Regions from separate parts of the Homo sapiens genome. Here all the other regions are linked to region 2. The links are contacts of gene promoters, found by promoter capture Hi-C in blood cells and fetal thymus (Javierre and others, 2016). All regions are on one chromosome and are shown on one strand. The core of a region is centred on a gene start or on the middle of the fragment in contact, and the rest is flanking DNA. Distances in the headings are between cores, read along the strand shown.

What was found. The method cuts DNA at HindIII sites, captures the fragments that hold promoters and counts their contacts. A CHiCAGO score of 5 or more calls a contact.
Region 1: a contact is called between a fragment that was not itself captured here and the fragment with the promoter of KLF10 in region 2, in 1 of 17 cell types (naive CD4 T cells). The highest score is 5.3, in naive CD4 T cells.
Region 3: a fragment that was not itself captured here is called in contact with the fragment with the promoter of KLF10 in region 2 in 1 of 17 cell types (total B cells); the score reaches 5.2 in total B cells.
Region 4: a contact is called between the fragment with the promoter of ZNF706 here and the fragment with the promoter of KLF10 in region 2, in 10 of 17 cell types (fetal thymus, naive CD4 T cells, total CD8 T cells and 7 more). The highest score is 13.9, in fetal thymus.
Region 5: a contact is called between a fragment that was not itself captured here and the fragment with the promoter of KLF10 in region 2, in 10 of 17 cell types (total B cells, naive CD4 T cells, naive B cells and 7 more). The highest score is 22.3, in total B cells.

What each region holds. Positions count from the first base shown.
Region 1 is chr8:100,949,150-100,952,411 of GRCh38, forward strand. YWHAZ (tyrosine 3-monooxygenase/tryptophan 5-monooxygenase activation protein zeta) reads right to left here and starts at 2,871. Exons shown (of 6, transcript NM_145690.3): 1 at 2,780-2,871. RefSeq lists enhancers at 1,076-1,135, 1,250-2,109, 1,736-1,815, 2,968-3,262 and silencers at 1,396-1,615, 2,006-2,775, 3,006-3,262. The HindIII fragment of the contact is 5,201 bases long and covers 1-3,262 here.
Region 2 is chr8:102,653,946-102,657,143 of GRCh38, forward strand. It overlaps KLF10 (KLF transcription factor 10), which reads right to left and starts at 1,780. Exons shown (of 4, transcript NM_005655.4): 1 at 1,621-1,780. The coding sequence starts at 1,656. It overlaps LOC101927245 (a long non-coding RNA gene), which reads left to right and starts at 2,303. Exons shown (of 5, transcript NR_160672.1): 1 at 2,303-2,841. RefSeq lists silencers at 1-749, 1,650-2,669, enhancers at 1-516, 1,810-2,410, 3,011-3,198 and a promoter at 1,636-2,370. The HindIII fragment of the contact is 6,240 bases long and covers 1-3,198 here.
Region 3 is chr8:101,312,175-101,315,414 of GRCh38, forward strand. LOC124901993 reads left to right here. Exons shown (of 6, transcript XM_047422526.1): 1 at 1-171; 2 at 1,902-2,137; 3 at 3,193-3,240. The coding sequence starts at 3,233. Among named protein-coding and RNA genes, the nearest start is that of LINC02844, 51 kb to the left of the region's middle. The HindIII fragment of the contact is 6,164 bases long and covers 1-3,240 here.
Region 4 is chr8:101,203,833-101,206,972 of GRCh38, forward strand. It overlaps ZNF706 (zinc finger protein 706), which reads right to left and starts at 1,841. Exons shown (of 4, transcript NM_016096.5): 1 at 1,603-1,841. RefSeq lists silencers at 1,376-1,975, 2,186-2,405. The HindIII fragment of the contact is 4,829 bases long and covers 49-3,140 here.
Region 5 is chr8:101,328,938-101,331,857 of GRCh38, forward strand. No RefSeq gene overlaps it. Among named protein-coding and RNA genes, the nearest start is that of LINC02845, 63 kb to the right of the region's middle. The HindIII fragment of the contact is 5,713 bases long and covers 1-2,920 here.

The sequences.
Region 1 (3,262 bases), core at 226-2,725, 1.7 Mb before region 2:
AGAAGACCCAAATTTCACATGTCAAAATTACTTCCAAAAGCTGCCTCAAAAACTACCCCTAATCTTACCTGATCAAAATCTCAACTCATTTCCAATACCACTAAGTGATCCAAAATTAAGCAGCTTTTCTTCCTTTAGTAAAAGCATTGTTTACAGAGAACATCTGGATTTCTATCATATTTCCAGAATCATAATTCATATCAGTTTAATGTAACTCACGTCTTTTTACTTTCATAATACTCTTGTCAAGAGTGATTACATTTTAGCTTTAGTGTTACCCCTACCCCAAACCTACTAGATCTCTGCAACAACTGCCAGCCAATAATAGCATAACAATTTGGGGGGGAATGACCAACTGTTTGTTTTCAGATATTTTGAGTATAAATCCACCACAAAGGATCAATATCTGACCCTAATGTCTCAACTCTTTATCTTGTTATATGTCCACATGCTTTAAAAATATCCGCAAGTCATGACACTTCAACTCTTACTGTGAGTACTAGAATATATCACATTGGAAGTACTTAATTTATAAGTGTTTCCAATGTCATCGCTCCAGTTGAAATGCAGAAGTGCTGCATTTTGCTTCTAGCCATCATAATGTAATTGGATGTTACCACTCAAGCTGTCCTTTACCATGACTACCCATCTAATTCTCTTTCCCTCGCATTTTAGTTTCCTGGACCTTTTCGATTTACCTCAGCTACATTTTTCTGGAAAGATACCCTTTTGCAAGTTGCCGAACAGCACAAAGATACTAATCCACACAGTGACACCACAGAATAAATGACTTCAGAGGAAAATACACACCCTGAATGAAGTGCACTTTTAAGTTAGAAGGTGAACAGAAGAGTCCACCTTGGCAGCTGGCTCCCGAATATTAATCATCTTTTACCTTCCCAGGGAAATCCCACAATATTTTTTTAACCAAATGAGAGAACAGGTCGCCACATTTTAAACAAATAATTAACCACTTTGGATGCAAGGTACTGGCTCAATACGTAAACTATTTAACCTTTATGACGGCATTATTTTCGTCAGGTCTCTAAATTACTGATTTTTCCCTTAGGATCTCAGAAACGCTCTCTGGTTATTTCTGCTTCTAACAAAAAATGATTTAAGCCAGTACAAAGGATTCTCTCCCCAATCACTTCGGTACAAGAGGAAGTGGATAAGGTTTCTCACACAGTAACGAGTGCTCCAAGGCCTCGCCTCTACACTGCGGGCAGGACTCACCGCACCCATTTAACCCTTACCTGACTTGAGACGTCGGTTACTGTGAAACGAAAACGGGCAGACCCGGACTTTAAAGTGCAAATTCTCCGGTCCGCGTATCGCAACCACCCCCCTCCAGGCTCCGCCCAAGTCGGAGCCACGGCTCAAGTCCCCGACTCTCCTCCTTTGTCATGGCGGATCTGTGTCAGGGAGCCCAACCTACTGCAGAGTGTTAATTCCTCCCCCCGACCGGAGCCAGAGGGAGGAGCAGCCCGCGCCCCCGCCCAAGCCGTGGGGGGGGGGGAGAGATGGGGAGCGAAGCCGCCCGACCCCGGGGCAGAGACGCCACAGCAGCCCGCAGAAGCGGAACCACTACCAGCCCCGCCGCGGACACACCCCGCTCTCCCACCCAGCGCCTTCCCCGCCACCGATCAGCGCCGGTGACCGTGTACAGCGTCTCTAAGGGACCGACAGCTGCAGGTGGGGGAGGGGACGAGAGCCACACCCAGCCGAGCGGGCCACCAGCGGCTATGCTCAGGCTCACCCGCCCCCAAAGCAGGATATGCGTCCCCAAACCGAGCGCAGGGACCCTCCAGTTCTAGTCCATCAAGCACGGGAGCCGACTGCGGGCTCACCACCCTGTTCTCTACCCCGACCTGGACTTGCAGCCCCCGTCCACACCTCCCCCGCCCGTTCACAAGGAGCAAAAAAAGTCAGACCCATCCCCCACCCCCACCAGGAAAATTCAAGTCCTTCCTCCCACCGCGGAGCCCAGGAAATTCAGCTCTAGGTCCCAGGCGAGCCCCACCCCAAAACCTCACCCCGCAGTGGACTCCCCTCCCGCCGGCGCGCAGCCTCGCCCCGGTCTACCTGGCGGGCGCCGCCGCGCCAGGCCTGGGCTCCGGCCCGCTCTCGGCCAGGCCTTTCCCTCGCGCTTGGGTCCCCGAGGCCCCCGGCCCCTCCCCGCCGCGCCACCGCCTCCCGGGGTGGGGGAGGGCCGGGTCCCGCCGCCGCAGCGCCCAGCGCGGAGGCTGCGCGAGGGGGAGGGAAAGGAGGGGGCGGCCGAGGGAGAGGGGAGGGGGCGGCCTCACCTGCGCCACTGCGATGCCCGCCGCCGCCGCCGCCGAGTCATTATCTCGGGCGGAAGCGAGAAGGGCGGCGAGGGAGGGGGTGGAAGCCCGCAGAGACAAGGGTGGGGATGGATCGCGGCCGGCGGCGCCCCGGCCATGCCTCGTCCACCTTCGGGAGCCGGCGACAGGGAGATCCCCAGGGATCTCGCGTGTGGGCGCCCTACCCACCCCCGGGGGCAGGACGGGGGAGCGAGCACCGATCGGCGCCGGGGCGTCGATGCGGAAGCAAGGAGCCGGAGGCGGCCGCTAGCCGCCCTCCCGAGCCCAGCGGAAGAGGAGCCGCCGCCCGTGTCCGCTGAGGAGACTCCGCCTCAGCCCGGCGCCGCCACCGCGGGGCGAGTGGGGATGAGGGGACGGAGCGAGGACGGCTCCCACGCGTTCGGAAGGCTGGCCTGGGACAGGAAGCGAGGCGCGGCGGCGGCCGGGTTCCTCACCTGTGTCCGGAGTGGGTGGTGGCGGCGGACGGACGGGCTCAGCAGTCTCTGGGCGGCGGCGGCGGCAGCAGCGGCGAGGCTGAGACTCTGTCCCTGGATCTCGCTGCTCACAGGCTACAGCCGCTCCGCAGACACGGGGTTTCCTCCAATCACCAGCCCCGGCAGCAGGGGCACCACACGCACGATGACGTCAAACGCTGCTATGGCAACCGTTGATTGGTGCCCACAGCGATCGGGGCCCCGCGTAACCGCCGCTCCCCGGCGCTCGTCCTGCCCGCCCGCGCTGGAGGGCGAGCGGAGGCGCGCGCGTCCTCGCCCGCAGCCGCCACTCCTCCCACCCCGCTCGGCTTCCAGCTCCTCTACGCTTGTCCCGAGTGCACCTAGGGCAGGAGGCTGCTTTTTTCCTTTTCCTCCCCAACGCAAATCCCCCACTCCTCGCCTTCCCTTTGGGTCCCCAACGCCCTCTCTCTCCCTCTCCCCTGC
Region 2 (3,198 bases), core at 530-3,029:
GGGCCGCCCTAACCTCAATGAGGCTCACGGGTGAGTCACTGGGAACATTCCTCGCCGCTCGCACGTCCCCGCGCCCCTGCCCCCGCCATTGGCCGGCCGGCTCGGCGGCCCGAGCCCGGATTGGCTGTGCGGCCCGGGGCGGGGGCGTGGGCGAGGAGGGGGCGAGGCATGTGAACAAAGCGTGATCAGCGGCTGCTCCGGGAGGCGCAGGAAACGTGAACTGGGAATTGCCGCGCCGTCACCTTTCCCCTACTTCCTGAGCTTGCGGGCCCCCGCCCGCGCCCGACCCGGGGGAGGGGCCGCGGGCGCCGCCGCCAACCGCCCGGCCGTGCGCGCCGGGCCCGCGGGGAGGGGCGGGGCTGCGGGCGCCAGGCTCCGGGAGGCGCCCGCCCCTTCCAGCTCCCCGCGAGCCGCCGTTCCCTTAGGAACCGACAGCGGGGCCGGGCCTCGCTCCCGCCCCTGGCGGAGGCCGGGGCTGGGTCACTCGGGGACGAGAAGCTCCCCGGGCGCACCCGCTCCCGGCCCACCCCCGGCCTCCGCCTCAGATGCGGGAGGAGGAGCCAGGTCCCCGCGGAAACCCGGCCGCCGCCCTCCTCCCGCCGGCAGCCCCCGGGAACCCGGCCGAGCCCTCGGCACTTCCCGCCCACGCGGCCCACGGGACCTCAGACCACCCCGTCTCTCCCTGTAGACGCGGCGCCCCCTCCCCGTGGCTTCCGGCAGCTCCAGGCCCCTCCCGCCGCGCGTCTCCACGGGTTCCCAGACGTGCAGCCCCCACAGGCCCCGGCTCCAGACGCGCGGCCCCCGCGTCTCGCGGCCCAGCTCCCCCCGCCCACCTTCCCGCCCCAGCTGCTGGGTCCCGCTTCCCACCCTCCTGCCCCAGAGGCGGCTCCCCGCCTCTTCCAAGGAGTCGTCAGAAGGCGGCCACCTGCCCCTGGGGTAAGAGTCCCCCTCCAGACGTCTGGGGGAGCAACTCGTCCCCCAGGGCTGTCGGCGGGCCCTCGTGTCATCCCCCCGCTCCGACGACAGGCGCCCCTTCCCCCAGCCCCGAGCTATCTGCTGAGCAGCCCCCGTCTTCCAAGCGTGGGTTCAGACCCCCAGGATGGGTAGCCCACTCGCCTCTCCTGTGGACACCCCGCCTCCCGAGTGCTTGCGAGCAGCCCCTTCCTCCCCTGGCTCGCGTTCCTGAGCCAGACCGGGCATCTCTCCTCGGTACCAGGTGAGGGTAGCCCCCTTGTCCCTCCCGCGACTCTCGTTCCACACTGTACCCCAACCTCGCTGCAGGGCAACGGCCCCCTCCCCACTCCTCCCCCGCTCGTCATCCTCCTCCTCACCAGCCCTCTCGGGTCTCCATGCGGAGTTGTCCCTTCCCCTCAGTACATCTAGAGCAAGACCCCTGTCCCTGTCTGAAGATCCCAGCCCCCTGGTTCGACCCCCTCCCGAACACACACGCCCTCACTAATGCCCATAGTCTGCAGGCAGGAAGCCCTTTCCTTCCCCACGACTCCGCTGCAGCCCCAATTCTCAGGCATGGCTGATGTCCGGGGCTCGGGGTTCGCGCCCCCTTTGGCCCCCCAGACAAGACCAGGCGAGGAAGCACAGGGGCATCCCCAAATGACTTACCGCAGTCTGCTGGAGAGAGGCACCGAAGTTGAGCATGGTTGGCTGCTTGGCCGCCGGCGGCAAGCTGACTGGCTGCTAGGCTGCTGGCTGCTTGGCCACAGACGGGCGCACGGAGACACTCGACGCCGCTCCCGCCGCCGCCGCGCTCAGCGCCGTCTGCCCCCTCCCCATTCAGGTAGCCGCTCAGCCTGCCCCGCGCCGCGGGCGGGGGTGGGGGCGGAGCCTGAGGCCGGCCAATCAACGGCAAAGGTGTGTGAGGCGCCGGCCAATGGGCTCGCGGGGCCACGCGTGATCGGCGACTGCCCGGCAGCGTGAAGCTGGTGTCAGTGGAGCGTGTACACAATCCCCGGCAGCGTGTTCCCTCTGCCCTGCCCCGGGGAACTCCAGAGGCCACCTGATTGAGTGACGCCCCCCGCCCCTCGCCCACCCCTCGCCCACTCCTTGCCCCTCGTCCCCCGCCCCTGCCTAGAGAGGCGGTGCCGCGGCCGGGGAGGCGCGGCGACTGCAGCGCGCCCAGGCACTGCGGAGGGCCAGCCCCACGTGGGGGGTGGGGAGGGATGCCCGCTCCGCCCCGTCCCCTCCGCGCCGGGCCTCGTCTCAGCCCGCCACGGAGTGGGCGGGACGCCAGGCAGGCGGGGGACGCGGCGGCTGCCAGCCAAGGGGCCGGAGCCAAGAGATTTGCATTGGAAGCGCCATCCTCTTGCGCGTCTGATGAGGAAGCAGAACCCGGTGACCGACTGAGCTGCATTTCTGAAGCATTTGCTGGGTTTTGCCTCACTAAGCCTCGGGGAGCACTGGGGCGCGGGATGGGGGACCCTGTCACGGAGCCGACACCTGCTCGCGCGCCTCTCCCCCGCTCACGCCGTGCCGCGGGCTCGCCCTCCCCATCTGCAGCGCCCGCAGCGCCTGCCCGCCCCGCCCATCCTTCCTCCTGGGCAACCCAGAGGATGGCGTGAGGACTCCTGGAAGCCCAGAGGACCGGACCAGGGGCGTGGTGGGGAGCCGTAGACCCGAGTTTTTATCCTTCTCTGGCGCCGACACTCGGCTGCGGAATCGAGTTTGAGCTCGGTGTAGCTGAAGTTTAAATTGTAGCTGTTTCAAAGGTAGACCCCACCTCACCCCCACCCCTGGACCAAGACCTCTGGAAGCGTCCTGCCTGGAAGCCGCTTGTGGGGAGGGCTCTCCTAGGGTCTCCAGGCTCCCGCTGGAGCACGCCTGGAGGTGGGTTTGCCGGCCGTTCCCTGAAACTGGCACCACTACCGCCCCACCCACCCACTCCAGCTGGTGGGAGGCAGGCTGGGTTTCTGAAAGGAAGCCGCCCGTGTGCTGCGCCTGGGGGCTGGGGCTAGGCCTTCTGATCAGGAAAGCCCATGGCCCTGCTTTGGCACGGATTTGCCCCCGTTTGGCCGTTTGTGCGTGATCACAGCAGCTGTTGTTGGAGAGGAAGGCAGTGATAACGGGGCTTAAAGCAAATCGGAGATCTTATCCGATTTGGACAGGCTGAATTTAAGGCAAAAATCACTGTCTCTCCTTCGAGCACTCACGTCTCTGTAACTGAATGAAAGGCTGGTAATGCAA
Region 3 (3,240 bases), core at 625-3,124, 1.3 Mb before region 2:
TGGTTCAGTCTGTGTGCTCCCGGGGGGTGATGGATAACACTGTTAAACACTCTGTGCTTCAGTTTCCTGCTATATAAAGCGAGGACAGTGATAGGACGGATTTCATGGGGTCGTTGGGAGAATTCAGTGACTTACTAAGTGTGAAGAACTAAGGACTGCAGCTGGCACGCAGTAAGCCTTCAACTAATGTTGCTATGATTACTGTTATTGTCATTATTGCTGCATTGTTGTTTTGTTAATTGTTATTTTTATGTTATATAGTGAGAGCAGGATGCACTGAAATGGCTTCTTATTTTTACTAGGCTGTGATGTTCTCGAGGGCAGGGTCTGGACTTTATCACCGTCTCCACCCCATCCATGGAAGCAGTGTGGTGTGATAGTTAAAGGCCAGCTTTGCCTATAAAGAGCCAGATAGTAAATATTTTAGGCTTTGTGGGCCATATGGTCTCTCTGTCCTTATAGCACAAAGACAGCCATAGATAATATGAACAGGTATAGCTATATTCCAGTAAAGTTGTGTTTATAAAAACAGGTAGTGCAATGGAGTTGGTCCATGGGCCATACTTTGCAGACTGCTGCTTAAAAGTGCCGCTCTGGAACCGAACTACCTGGGTTTAAATCCCAGCTCTGTTGCTTTGTGACTTAGAGTTACTCAATCTCTCCATAATTCAGTTTCTTCATTTGTACATTGGGGGTGAAATGAAGTAAAGTATATAAAGCACTTGGGACTTCACCTGGTAGATAGATAATAATAAGCTCTGAATGTGTGTGTGTGTGTACACGTGTATGTGATTATAAATATTTTATATGTATATATATGAGATACATATTTTTCTTTTCTTTTTTTTTTTTTTTTTTGAGACACAGTCTCACTCTGTCGTCCAGTGCAGTGGCATGATCTCGGCTCACTGCAACCTCCGCCTCCTGGGTTCAAGCAATTCTCTTGCCTCAGCCTCCCGAGTAGCTGGGACTACAGGCGTATGCCACCATGCCCTGCTAATTTTTGTATTTTTAGTAGAGATGGGGTTTCACCATGTTGTCCAGGCTGGTCTCGAACCCCTGACCTCAGGTGATCCACCCACCTCGACTTCCCAAAGTGCTGGGATTACAAGCATGAGCCACCAAGCCTGGCCTATATACTTCACATATATATATATACACACACACATGAAATAAGCTAAGTTAACTTATTGAGCAACTATCTCTCTGTCAGGCATTCCAGTAATAATCGTTTACTGGACAAAGCCTAATTGTTACTGGAATTTCTAATGGACAGTAGTGCTCACTAAATATTGCCTAAGTGGTGAACAGATAAATGCACTCTTCTCATTTACATTTTACTCATCCTTCAAGTTCAAGGTTGAGTTCTCTTCCTTTAGGCGTCCTCCTTGGCAGCCCAGGCTCAGCCCATCTCTTCCTCTCTCCCTTCATGGCAGTTCACTGGGCATCACACTTGGCAGCCTTTGGTTCTCCAGAGCACTTTCCACCATCCCGCTTGTCACCACCTTCTTTCCGTGTTGATGTTGTTCACGGACTGTCTCCCTCAGTAGAATGTGAGCTCCTTACCATGGTTTGTCCAGTACCTAGGACAGTGCCTGTCAGGTGCTCAGTAATTGTTTATTGATTAATGAATGAATGAATGAACGAATGAATGAATCCTTTCTATTATTGCAACCTGTTGTTTTCATCATTTAACCTTTCTCTGTGTATGCTTTATCTCCCAAACTACAGACTAAGTTTTTTTAAAGTTACCTCTCTGATCAGCATTTCAGGATTACTATGAAGATCAAATTAAATTACATGTGGCAGTGTCTAGCTTGGAGTTTGGTGTATATTGATGTCAATTGCATATTCCTAATTCATACTTTCTTCTCTCCGTTTCATAAATATTTGTTTTCCAGGTATCACAGAAAGAATTGAAAGGCAAGGTTGTCAGACAGATATGGCAGCTAAGACACCAACTGAGGAATGTTATCAATGTAGCTCCGTGAAATTGCCATATTTTACATCCTGCAGTTCTGCAGTCAAGTGGTGGTATTTTTGTCACAGCCCACATCAAAGCCCAGATGGCATGAGGGAGGGATGGAAATGGGGCTCCATAACCCTCAGGAACTCTGAAGATTTCATCTCCTAAGTGGTATTGTCCATCTGTTTCTGCAACTTCCTTAGCAACTTGACAAGTAAATCCTTAAATAGTAACTGCCAGCAGTATTGCAGTTCTTTGTCTTTCTGACTAGGTATGAAAGCCAAGAAGGCAGCCCTTTGTAAATGGTGTCACTGTTTGAGATGTTTGCGGGCTGCTTGCTCTTCTAGATCCACATGGCCTTTCAGTTTGTCTCCACGGGAGGTCTATGCTTGGTCATGATCAGCTGACACTCATAAATCCTGTGTCTGGACATCTGTCACTCCTGCCAGTCCAGCATCCCTTTCTTGAAGTAGCAGCTACCTGATTTTCCTTGGGACCCCTCTGAGTCTCAGATTCAGAAGGCTAGGGTGGGCTCGGCACAGTAGCTCACGCTTGTAATCCTAGCACTTTGGGGAGGCCAAGGCTGGCAGATCACCAGGTCAGGAGTTCAAAACCAGCCTGGCCAACATGGTGAAACCCTGTCTCACCTAAAAGTACAAAAAAAATTAGCCGGGTGTGGTGATGGGCACCTGTAATCCCAGCTACTCAGAAGGCTGAGGCAGGAGAATTGCTTGAACCCAGGAGGTGGAGGTTGCAGTGAGCCAAGATCGTGCCATTGCACCCCAGCCTGGGCAACAGAGTGAGACTCTGTCTCAAAAAAAAAAAAAAAAAAAGAAGGCTAGGGTGAAGAAGGTGCCCTTTGGATAATTATTTATTTAGGGAACTATCCTGAGAAGTATGTCTCCTTTTAAAAGAAATATGTGAAAATAATGTTTGTTCTCACAACTTCGATCTCCTGGATAGTTCTGTCTCTGAAGAGATTTTTTTATTGTTGTTGTTTTTCTTAAAAACAGAGAAACATTTTGTTAGACATTGTAGTTTGATTGAAAGTCGGCTGGCCAGGCCTGCAGAGATGATGAGTATGTTCAGACATCGAATAGATTTCTTGTCTTAGATGATGTTTTTCAAATCAGAGCTTTGTGGTTTTACTTTATGATTTTTTTCAGATGACTCTGGTTACGGTCACCACCAGAGTGCTCAGTGCTGTTTACTATTCAACTCCGCAGGAGCCAGAATCCAGACGCTGGGAAATGTGAATGTTCCAATATGGCTGA
Region 4 (3,140 bases), core at 591-3,090, 1.5 Mb before region 2:
AAATGGCACATTTTTTTTAAAAGTGTATTTAAGTCCGATGTTACCGCAAGCTTACAAACCTATTCCCATGGAAACAGGTTTGGATACTTATGTATTATTTGGACGACAGTAGTCACGTGATCAGCCTTTATGTATACCAATGTTTTGCAAGGTTTTTTGTCTCAATGTCTTACTATCAGGACCTTGTAACAAAATAGCCAGTCTTCTCACACATCTTAACTCTTCGACACAATGTATTTTATGTATCTTAATACACTGATTTTGTGGGAAATCTTGTTTTATGTTAAAAAAAATCTTCAAAAATGGTAAGCCACTAATTTCAGAAGTTCCTTTGCTTTCTAGAAGTTACTAGCTATTTTGATATTTCCATGTTGTGACTCGTACAAAGCAATGTCATTAGACACACAAAATTATTTTTAACTTTTGCACTTAGGACTTTCCCTAAAATATAACATTACACAATAGATTCAACCCATTTTCCATTGTCACCAAACAGCAACCAAAAAGACCGAAGAGACTTAATAAAGACAGTAGTCACTTGTTCTTATTCTGAAGACAGAAAACTTAACACCAGGTAAAGGAAATGGAATAAAATAAGCTAAATGCATGAGGTAGGCCCCTAACTTCTGACAACACGCCCCATCGATTTCCTTTCTGAAAGCAGAAATTCAAACGAACCAACCACCTGCTTTTGGACAGCTCAACTTAGGACTTGCTCTCAAGCCAACACAATTTTCTACAAAATCGTAGGCAGCTACAACCGCTCCTTGATTAAATGCGACAAACTGGAGGGAAAAAGTCACTTACAAATACCTACATGCTGGTTTTTAATGCAACTCTCAGTGTGGTTTTCCGAGGGGGCTGCAAAGAGGGAAGTAGTGGAAGAAACGAGTTCTAAAATGAGGCGCTCTCGTAGGAGGCAACAAGTAAGCTCTGCCCCAAAGCTCCTTTTAAAACCAACATAAATGAGTAACAGAAGAAAAGGATTTTGGGTCCAGGAAGTAGGCTCATTCTCCATAACCATCGGAAAGGAAGAGGCCCAGGCAGCGCTCCACATCCTGACCCTAGCTTTTAACACCATCGTTTTGGGGAGAGGAGAGGAGGAACGCACCCACAGTGAGGTCTCCACCCAACACTTCTCCGACCCCAGCTTCAGCCTGGCGCACCTTCCTTCCCAAACCCGCCTCTCCCGCCTCGGAGACCCCCTCCTCCTCCCTGCCACCAAAGGCCACGCAGCCCCCATCTAGCCAGTCCTCACGGACCCTGGACCAAGACGCGCCTCCTGGAGGCCGAGACTGCCCGAAACCCGGCCCCTGCGTCCACCGGGAGCGCCACACTCTGGCAGCTGACCGGCGGCTGTCGCCGGGGGTAAGGTTACCGCTCCGCTTCCGCGGCTGGCCTGCGACCCGGCCACCTGCAGGGCCTGGCAGGCGCCCGAACTCATCCCCTTCCCGCGGCCCGCCCCGGGCCGGGCCCTGCCGCCCCCCGCGACCCCTCGCGACCCGCGGCGAGTCCCACGGTCCCCACCGCCCCCCGCTGGCCGGCCCCCGCCCCGTTTCCCGGGCGTCCCGCGGCGTCAGCACCGCCCCCGCTGCCGCTCACCCGGGCCGGGACAGTCTTGCGTCGGAGAGACAGTGCAGCGCGAGAGGGCCGGGAGAGGACGCCGGAGGGAAAGGAAGGGGGAGCGCGCCCAGCACCGCTTGGGCCTCCTCCACCCGCTCAGGAGGGGAAACACGAGAGCCGGGAGCACAACAGCCTCGCACGCCCGCCGCCGCCGCGCGCCCGCCGCCGCCTCAGCCTTAGGGGAGACCACTACGCCTCGTGCCCGCGCACGCCGCGCCGCTCTCCTCGGCGCCCCCGCCCCGCCTGCTCCTCGCAGCCCCGCCCATGTGCCTTTCTGCGGCTGCCTCCTTCTGGCCCCCACCCCGCTCGCACGCCTGCGCCCTGGCTGGTCGCGCGGGCCAATGGCAGCGCGCCCCTATTACATAAGCGCGAGGGGGCGGGCCCTGGCTGACACAAACTTCAGGGGACGTCGCCTTCTGTCCCCAGGCGCCCCTCCTCTCCGGCGCGCTCGGTCCGGGCGGCTTCTTCACCCAGCCCTGGGAGCCACGTGATCCCGGTCCTGGTTGGTGACCGGGCCGCGGCGTGTTTCACAAGTCGCTCGCTCGCTCATCCACTCGGGCGGCGGCCGGGCCTCAGGCGCTGCGACCCTTTTCCCGCTCCTCCCAGGCTGACGCGCCCGTCTCGGCGCCGCCCTCCTCGGCACCGACTGAGGCGCTGGCCCGGGAGCGGATCGCGGGGCCGCGGTGGCTGAGTCACATTCCCGGAGCCCCGCCACCCAGGACACCGCGGCCCCGGCCCCCAGCGAGCCCGGCGGACCCAGCGGCTCTGAACGCGGACGCACAGCCTTTGTTCTTTCACAGCCGCCCTTTACCTCACTCCCATGGAAACCCCAGGTGTTTTCCCAAGCTGGGGGCTTTTAGTGAGTTCAAGATTCAAGCCTAAGTCGTATTAAAAATTGCTGGCTAGGCCGGGCGCGGTGGCTCACGCCTGTAATCTCAGCGCTTTGGGAGCCCAAGGCAGGAGGATCACTTGAGCCCAGGAGTTCCAGACCAGCCTGAGTACATAGCGAGACCCACGTCTCCACAAAAATAAAATAAAATAAAATAAATAGTGGAGCATGGTGGCCCGCGCCTGTAGTCCCAGCTACTCGGGAGGCTGAGGTGGGAGAATCGCTTGAGGCCGGGAGGTGAAGGTTGCGGTAAGCCGAGATCGCGCCATTGCACTCCATCCTGGGCGACTGAGTGAGACCCTGCCTAAAAAAAAAAAAAAACAAAAAAAGAAAAAAAAATTGCTGGCCAGGCTTCCCGGAGGGGTTTAGTTTGACTGCTAACAATATACGGTACTGAGTTGCTAATCCTTCGGGGAATGGTTAAAGTTCTTTGCGCGCGCTCTCTCTCCATTTACAGGCAGTGGCAGCAAACTTTCAATATCTGACAAGAGCAATGGCGATTATAACCATGATTAAAATTGCTGAATATCTGGAAACAGTACTTTAGACATCAGCTTTATTGTGCATACTTACCCCCGACCCCCGCCACATTCGTTTCTAATTAGAACTACTAGTGACAAAGGAGAAA
Region 5 (2,920 bases), core at 279-2,778, 1.3 Mb before region 2:
GTGTGAGAGAGACACTGAGCTTCTTTCTGTTCAATCCCACCAGCAAGGACCTTGCTGAGGCCCCACATTACAGAGTGGCCCACACTGGCAGTGTCCAGCAGAGGCTCGGCAAAGCCAGTGTCACAAGATCGAGCCCAGGCTCATGACAGCACTGACCTCAGGACCGGACCTCCCAGCCCAGGTGGCACCTGAAAGCCTGGGTCTGATCAGATTTCTTTCTGTGAAATCTTCAGTTTTAGTACCTTGTGGCTTTGATGACAGCTCAATGTTCTCATGCTGGGCTGCAGAGTAGAACGCTGCTGTAACAAAGTACCACAAACAAGGTGCTTAAAACCACAAATTTATTCTATCCCAGTTCTAGAGGCCAGGAGTCTGAAATCAAGATGTCGGCAGGGTCATGCTACCCCTGAAGGCTCTAGGGCAGAACTTTTCTTTGCCTTTTCTGGCTTCTGGGGCCTCCAGCCTTCCTTGTCTCGTGGCTACATCACTGTAATCTCTGCCTCTGTCTTCACACAGCCTCCTCCTCTTCTGTGTCTATGCCTTCTCCTCTTCTGTGTTTTGATAGGATTATGGGCCCACCCAGGTAATTCAGGATAATCTCATCTCAAGATCCTTAATAATATCCGCAAAGATCCTTTTTCCAAATAAGGTCACATGTGCAGATTCCAGGCCATGGACATATCTTTTAGGGGCCACCATTCAACTCACTTCGTATTCCACTGAATGTGGAGGATGGCTCTAAAGCCCCCGGTTTTGAATAATTTCCCTAGGCTCATGTAGTGAGCTATTCCAGGGGTCTACTCACCCTGGCCCTGTCCTGCCTCCCTCCTTCCCACTCCCCTGACCACTCAGGTCATTTTCATGCATGCTGAGCACTGACTGAGGAGATCTTCAGCATCTCGAGGCCTGCCCACGGGGGTGCTCTGCTGCCCACCCCATGCCAATTTTCCCAGACCAGTGGACTGTGAGTCCCCAGGAGTACCTGGCCCCCTCAATCTGCTCTCTATGAACCCGTCTGAGGCCTGAGGGCTCTGCCTTGGAAGTCAACCTCACACCATGAGGATCCAACTGCAGCCTCACTGGGGCTCTGAGATTCAACCAGCTCCACCAGTTTCAGTCCTTTTGAAAGTTCTTGACACCTAAGGTATACCCCTCACACATGTGCGTATACACACACACACTCACATACACATGCCCCTCAGTGCCTCTCCAGGTGGACAGCAGCACCCTTTGCCCTACAGGTATTCTGAAAAGATTACATTAGATTGAACTTTTAGAACTTAGCTCCTATTTTCCTATGAAGTTTCAATAGGTTAGAGATGACCTACTTTTCTTTTTTCATTACTTTCCTCATAATTTAAATGTTTTTGTGCAACCCTAAGCTGCAATTTGTAAATATTAAAGTGACCAACTACGATTAAAGGAAGCCTTATTAGAGAGTCAAGCGATTACTGGACCCCTTGCTTATTTATCTGTTTTACAGTATTGCCTATGAGCAGGGTTGCCTGCCTTCTAAGTATAAAAGAATGCTGGTTTTATTTTATCACGAGTAGTACACAGCGTCTAGAGGAAGCCAGTAAATACCCATATTTTGAATTTTCATTTTTAGCTAAGTTGCTATGGAAACTCCTCCTCTCCCCATTGCCCCCTCCTGGCTCCATCCCTCCCCTCGCCTGGGGTCCCCAAAGCACATCAGGTATGGGGAGCACTGAAACCCCAGCACTACCACTAGGGCTCTGTGACCTTGGACCAGACACACAGGACCAACTAACCCCTCAGGCACAGGAGGAACCATGCCTAGGGCCCACCATACTCTTAGAAGCCCATAAAAATGTTATTTTTTTAATTACAAAATATATATATATATAACTTTATGTCGAAGAAAATGTTTTAATACATATCAATGTATTTGTCTTTATACGAATGCAGTCATAAAATAGAATATTGTTAATATTTTTGATGGAGGAAGGGGCCCAGGAAGATCAGAATGCACGTAGACACACCTTCTTTCTGAGCCTGGTTCCTCAGGGGGATGATGAGTGTGATTGTTTTTAGTCCCTGAGGCTGTTGTAAGGATCCAAGGAGCAAAAAATTGGATGCACAGTAGGTGTTCAATAAATGCTGCTTCTCTCATATCCTCTGTCCCTTTCTGAGCTCCAAAGAGACACTCTCAGGCCCCACCCTATGAGTTAGGCATTCTTTCCATTTAAGGGATGAAGAAGCTGAGGCTGTGAGAGAGAAAGGCCAGATTCATCCCTCTGTATTCTACCCTGTCAGACATGGAGGCCGTTACATAAGAAATATTTTTGACTGGGCACAGTGGCTCATGCCTGTAATCCCAACACTTTGGGAGGCCAAGGTGGGTGGATCACCTGAGGTCAGGAGGGTGAGACCAGCCTGGCCAACATGGGGAAACCCTGTTTCTACTAAAAATACAAAAATTAGCCAGGCTTGGTGGTGGATGCCTGTAATCCCAGCTACCCGGAAGGCTGAGGCAGGAGAGTCGCTTGAACCCAAGAGGTGGAGGTTGCAGTGAACCCAGATCGCGCCATTGCACTGCAGCCTGGGCAACAAGAGCGAAACTCTGTCCTCCACCAAAACAAAACAAAAGAAAGAAAGAAAGAAAGGAAAGAAATAATTTCAGGCTTGAGGATTGCCTGAGCATGGAAGGTCAAGGTTGCAGTGAGTCGTGAACATGCATTGTGCTCTAGCCTGGGTGAGAGAGTGAGACCCTGGAAGGAAGGAAGGAAGGAAGGAAGGAAGGAAGGAAGGAAAGAAAGGAAGGGAGGGAAAGAAAGAGAAAGAAAGGAAAGAAAAGAAGAAAGAAAAAGAAAAGAAAGAAAGAAAGAAAAAGAAAGAAAGGGAAAGAAAGGAAGGAGAAAAGAAATATTCTGTACCCCTTCCTCCCCCATTTTACTAG